Linked DNA regions of Homo sapiens: region 2 is linked to region 1. The links are contacts of gene promoters, found by promoter capture Hi-C in blood cells and fetal thymus (Javierre and others, 2016). All regions are on one chromosome and are shown on one strand. Each heading gives the region's core, a stretch centred on a gene start or on the middle of the fragment in contact. The rest is flanking DNA. Distances are from core to core; before and after follow the strand shown. Region 1 holds the start of KCTD17 (potassium channel tetramerization domain containing 17). Region 2 holds the start of SSTR3 (somatostatin receptor 3).

Evidence for each region. Contacts are between HindIII fragments. The CHiCAGO score rates a contact against its expected background, and 5 or more counts as called.
Region 2: a contact is called between the fragment with the promoter of SSTR3 here and the fragment with the promoter of KCTD17 in region 1, in 2 of 17 cell types (total CD8 T cells and activated CD4 T cells). The highest score is 6.1, in total CD8 T cells.

What each region holds. Positions count from the first base shown.
Region 1 is chr22:37,050,113-37,053,007 of GRCh38, reverse strand. It overlaps KCTD17 (potassium channel tetramerization domain containing 17), which reads right to left and starts at 1,266. Exons shown (of 9, transcript NM_001282684.2): 1 at 1,059-1,266. The coding sequence starts at 1,247. RefSeq lists enhancers at 1-380, 381-1,098 and silencers at 1,035-1,154, 1,165-1,474. The HindIII fragment of the contact is 2,809 bases long and covers 1-2,414 here.
Region 2 is chr22:37,211,198-37,214,085 of GRCh38, reverse strand. It overlaps SSTR3 (somatostatin receptor 3), which reads left to right and starts at 1,609. Exons shown (of 2, transcript NM_001051.5): 1 at 1,609-2,261. RefSeq lists an enhancer at 1,791-2,770. The HindIII fragment of the contact is 10,151 bases long and covers 1-1,967 here.

The DNA of each region.
Region 1 (2,895 bases), core at 17-2,516:
GAGCTCTTCCCTGGATGGAGCAGGCACAAAGTAGCAAAAAGGCACTGGGGTCAGATGGACCTGAGTTCAAGCCCTGCTTCTGACTCTTCCTGAATGTGTGACCTTAGGCTAATGATTTGGCCTCTTTGAAACTCACTCCTCTCCCCCTAATCAGGGTTTGCTGTGAGCATCCGGTGAGAGGATGTCTGAGTGGCAACTGGCCCAGCACAGGGCTCGAAGAATGTCCCTCTGAGAGGCTGTCCCCTGAAGCCAGCCCCACTGTCGCCCCCAGGTCCCTAGGCTTTCAGGGGATGTTTACAAGTTTCCAAAGGAGTCACTATCTCACTGGACACTCGGGCGGGCAGGGAGGCAGGGTGGGCTTCCATGCGACTCTACAGAGAGATCGGAGACATTGAGAGGTGAGGCGACTTGCCAAAGGCCACAGCATCGGAGGGTCACGGATGGGGGACAGGAGACCTTAGAGGTCATCTTCAGACCAGCCCTTCGTGTTACAGATGAGGAAGGAGGCTGAGCGCAGTGCAGGGAAGGGTCCGACTCAAGGTCGCGGCAGGCAGTGTGCAGCAGAGTCAGGGTGGGTGCTCAGAAATAGTGCCCGCTGGGCCAACGCTCCTTCTAGATTCAGCCCGCTCAGAAGGCGCCCCAGGGCTCCTCCATCCAGCTAGCTCCCTGCACCCCTCCGCCACCCACATCCCAAAGAGCGGGAGAAGTAGCCTCGTCGACTCCTTCCCCAGAGCAGGAGTCCCCTTTGGGAGGGAGGAAAGGTCCCAGGTCTCTCCCTGTCCACAGCCCCAAAGGAGAAGGAGAGGCCCCGATCCGGGGCGGCTGGAGAGCTTCTAATGGCCGCGGCCTGCGTCGTCCCGTTGCCACGGCAATGGGTACATCCCTCACTACCAGACCCACCTCCCCCTCCCCTCCTCCTGCCGCTTCTTCCCGCCTCCAGTTCCTCGGAAATGAACCCGGCCGGGTCCCCAGCCTGGCGGGCGAGCCAGGCCCGACAGCCCCGCGTCGGGCGAGCGGAGGACCCACCGCCCGCTCGCCGCCCACCCCGGGGGCCTCACCCGGTCCGACTGCAGCTCTTCCCCCTGGCACAGGCGGCTGAGGAAGGACTTCTGCTCGCGGCACAGCGTCTGCCGGGTGGTCAGGAACACCGTGCCCCCCACGTTGAGCCGCACCCACTTGCCCCAGCCGCCTGCGGCGCGGCCGCCCGCCCCCGCCGGCGGCGCTGCCTCCCCGGCCTCCATCCTCATCGCCGGCCGCGGCGTCTGCATCCTCCTCCCGGGCGCTGGGGGCGGGCGGGGACCGCACGCGGGGCAGGCCGGGAGCTGTAGTCCGCGCCTCCTGGCTCCGCGTGGGCCGCGGGTAGGGTCCCGCCCCGCGCTGCTCCCGCCCCCGGTCCCGCCCCGCTTCGCCCTTCCCCGCAGGCCCGCAGTCTGGGGTGGTGAAGATGCCCTCTGGCCAAATCACTGTGTATGGGGAAGGTCGAACTCCCGGCCTCTGGGAAAAGAATGAGGGCTTCCCCAAATCTGCAGTCATCCCATGGGTCCGAGCATTCTTGTTTTTCCTTTGTGCCGTCTCCGTCGTCCAACAGCTGATAAGGGAAGAAACTTTCCCCTCCAGGAATCCCCATAGCATTGACCCGCATGTGTTTCGTCATATTTTTTCATTTGCCCTTTGTGTGTATAGGGGTGGGGGCGGGGTGGGTGGGAGTGGGTTCTTTCCCTCACCTGAGTTCTTGGAGAACGACATAGCTGGACTTGAGGTTGGCTGAGCACCTGTATGCCAGACACTTTGTGTATATGTGTTATGAATTTAAGCTCTCAGCAGCCCTGTGAGTCTGGTATTTTGGGCTATACCCATTTTACAGATGAAGCCACAGAAGCGAAGTGACCGCCCTACTCACATTGCTGGTGAGTGAGTACCCACCAAGGTCTCTTTCCTGCTCCCTGACCATGGAATGTCAGGGATCCTTGGGAAAGACTTCTAAGGAGGAAGAGTAGAGCACGCCCTGGATCCGAGTCAGGAGAACTGAGTTTCCATTCTGGCTTTTGGCCTTTCTCAGTTTTTCCACGTCCTCCCTAAGAAGGAGGAGGGATTGGTTCTGCGGGTGGCTTTCTGAGTTATTCCCCAGTTAACTCGGAGGGGAACCGTCATTCTGTGGACCTCAGGATGGGGGAAGGGAGCAGTTCCTCATGTGGTCCGGGACCAGGGAGGGACAAGGGCTGACGAGGAAGCTGTCTCCTTAGCTTCCTCTCCTTACTGGTTTCAGTCCTGGTCCTGGCCTATGGGGGAGAGGTCTGGGGCTCCTCTCACTGATCCAATGTCACACGCAGCTGGCCCGAACACTGGGCAGCCTGGCCCTGTGCTGGGAGAAGTTTCCCTGTTACCACCCAATGCCCTGCTTTCTGCATAAAGCTTTTCTCCTTGGCAGGGAGTGGATCAAAGGTGTACTGGAATCCTGCTACTTAAAATTCACTAGGTGTGTCCTGAGCAACTTCCTCTCTGAGATTGGCTTTCTCTCTTGCCAAATGGGATTTACAACAGTTGTGACCCCAGAGCATTGCTGTGAAGATTAAGTTATGAAATGTCTATAAACATCTAGCGTAGGCTGGGTGCGGTGGCTCACACCTGTAATCCCAGCACTTTGGGAGGCCAAGGCTCGCTTGAGCATAGAAGTTCAAGACCAGCCTGGACAGCATAGTGAGACCCCTATCTCTCTCTCTCTCTCTCTCTCTCTCTCTCTCTCTCTCTTTTTCTTTTTTGAGATACAGTCTCACTCTCTCACCCAGACTGGAGTGCAGTGGCACCATCTCAGCTCACTGCAACCTCTGCCTTCTGGGTTCAAGCAATTCTCATGCCTCAGCCTCCTGAGTAGCTGGGATGACAGGCATGCACCAC
Region 2 (2,888 bases), core at 360-2,859, 160 kb before region 1:
GGCACACTGATGAGCATTCACTCCTTTAACCTTCGCAAGAACCCCCAGGCCAGGCAGTCAGGTGTGTACAATCTACTGAAGGAGAAAACCGAAGTTTAAGTTCAGTGCACGGCAGGGGTAGAGCTGGGGCTCAAACTCCCCTGTCCAGTCTTCAGCCCCTATACCCCAACCTGCAGGAATAAGTGAATGAATACATGAGGCTGGGTACGCCTGGGGCACAGAGGAGCGAGTGAAATCAGCAGAGGAGGAGGCCCGCGCAGGCGGCAGGAATCAAGGATGCAGTGCCAGGTGGGCTGCGGCGAGAGAGCTTTATTCTGAGGGCAGTGAGAAGCCGTGGGTAGGGGTGGGTGGTCAGTGCCATGGAAAACCCACCCTTGACCCTGAGGACACGCTCCCAGGAGCCCACCCACACCTCATGAACTTGTACGGACAAGGACAATGGGAGGCTGAGACCTGGAGCAAGGGCCTTGTCCCGGGCACAAGGCAAAGGGACGGGCAGCGTTAAGAGACCAGGCCGGCTCCGGCTGGAAGTGGGTGTGTCCTACTGTGTGCTGCCGCATGCATGGTGGCACCTCTGGATGCATTCAACTTCCAGTTCTCTGCAGTGCCAGGTACCTAGTGACAAAGGAGGTCCAGCCCTGGTCCCAGGGAATGGCCCAGTTTGGAAAGCAGCCTAGGTACAGCCTGGCACATAGTAGGTGCTCAGCCAAGACGTGTGTCCTTTTCCCTTCCGTCTCTGACTGTTCCTTTCCTTATCACTCCTGTGCTGAGGCAGGAATCAGCACAGGCAGGGGCACGGCATCCCAAGACATCTGGGCCTGTGCTCAGGACTGTACGGCAGAGTCTCTTAGACCAAAGATCAGTAAATATGGCCCACGGGGCAAATCCCACCCACTGCCTGTTTTTGTACAGCCTAGGAGCTGAGAATGGTTTTTACGGATGAACATTTGCAATCGGTTTGATGAAACACTAACTCTAAACTCCAATTAAGCAAAAGGTGATGTCTGTAAAAAGAACTCTATTCTTCTCATGAGTGGACCTACATTACAAAATACTGGCCTCAATTATTATTATTCTATTTTGAGTTTTGTCAGTTACAAAATAGTAAAAATCTGTTTTCTCACTGCACAATGATTTTGCCCTCAAAGCCTAAAATATTGGTTCTCTGTTCTGTCCTTCCACTCCTCACCCTGCCTGGGGCTCTCCAGATGTAACCAATCCCAGGACTAATGACCCCCACCCGGCCTCCCCAGTGGTCCGTGCTGCGGCCGGTGTGCCCGACTGCAGGGCTGGACTGTGGACTCCCGGGCTGGCCAGCCCCACACCCAGCCTTGCCTTGGGACACAGCTGCTGCCCCGGGGGACCTGTGCCGCAGTGGCCTCACGAGCTGCTCTGGCTACTGGCTGGCAGCCTCGGCTCCCCTGAGCACTGAGCACATTCTTCTCTCCAACTCCCTGCAGGAGCCAAGGCCAGCGGGCGTGGGTGGCTGAAATCTCCCCGGTAACAGGGTCTGCGCCCCTCCTGCTCCCTCTCCGGGCCTCCTCCCTTAACCTGCACCCCGCCCCCACCCCCCACACCTGCTCTCCGGCCCTCAGCCCCTCCCTGCTTACTCCCTCCTTCACGGGCTCCATGTCACCATCTGTGGCACAGTCCCTCTCTGTCACTCTCCCTGCCACCCCCTCATTCTCCTTCCTCCCTCCTGCCTCTCTCTGCATCTCTCCCTCTCACCCGTGTCTCCTCTCCTCTCTTTCCTTCTCGTCTTCTCCCTGTCACGCATCTCTCATCACTCCCCCTCATTCTGCCTTTCCTCCTACTCACGGTCTCCTCTCCCTCTCCCTCTCTCTCTCTCCCCCTCCCTCTTTCTCTCTCTCTCTCTTTCTCCACCTCCTCCCGACCCCCTTTCCCCTCTATTTCTATTGGCTTCTGTGTCCCTTGCTCCCCTCTTCTCTTCCTCACCCTGGGAAGCTTCTCCCCCCTATCCTTGCCCCTGCCCCCCCAGGATGTGTCCTGGAGATGGGGGGTGACGTACCAGGCTCTGGTTGGGAAGTCAGGGCCGGAGACCAGATGGGAGAGGCTCTGTGGACAGCCGTGGCCGAGGGCCTGGGAGGGAACCTGAGCCCGCAAGCGGTCTAGAAGTGGGTGCCTTGTGGGGACCCTAGTTAGGAGTGCCCTGGGGGCACCTGGGGACTGGGCAGGGAGAGGGGACAGCAGAATGATAACCAGCCTGGCGGCAAGGAGGGAAGCCCTCACCCCATGGGCAGGTAAGGAGGCTGGGGCCCGGATGATGTCCCGAAGGGTGGGGTCCTGGAAGCCCATCCTCTGCCCAGGATGAACTTGGGAGGCTGGGGCTGGGGAGGCAGAGGGTGGGGACTCCCAGGGAGGCAGGAGGGAGGCCTTCCTGTGACCTCCCGGTCGGCTGCAGGGGCAGGGGCGTTAGTCTCAGAATCTCGTGCCATGATTCTAGGATCTCGGAATCACAGAATCGCAGGCTGTCAGGGCTGGAGGGAGCCAGATGTATCATGTCGTTGGCTTCCCCAGCTCACGTGGCAGCTCTCCTGAGCTCCCCCTCCATACCCGGCACTGTGCTTGGCACGCCTCCGTTTAATCTCTGCAAACAACCCTGGGAGGTGGGTCCGCTTGTCTTCCATATGACGAAACTGAGGTGCAGCGGGGAGAAGTGACTTGCCCGAGGTCACACAGCAATTTGGCATCATCGCTGTGCAGCAGAGCCCAAGCCCCCAGCGCTGGGCCTGTAGGGTGTGCTCCTGGGATCAGGCCCCAGGCCTGGGGTGCCAGTGAGTCAGTCGGCACTGGCAAGCATAAGCCAGGTGTCTTTGGGGGGAAGGCCGAAGCATGTAGAGGACAAGCAGAGAGCCAGGGGCCATCGC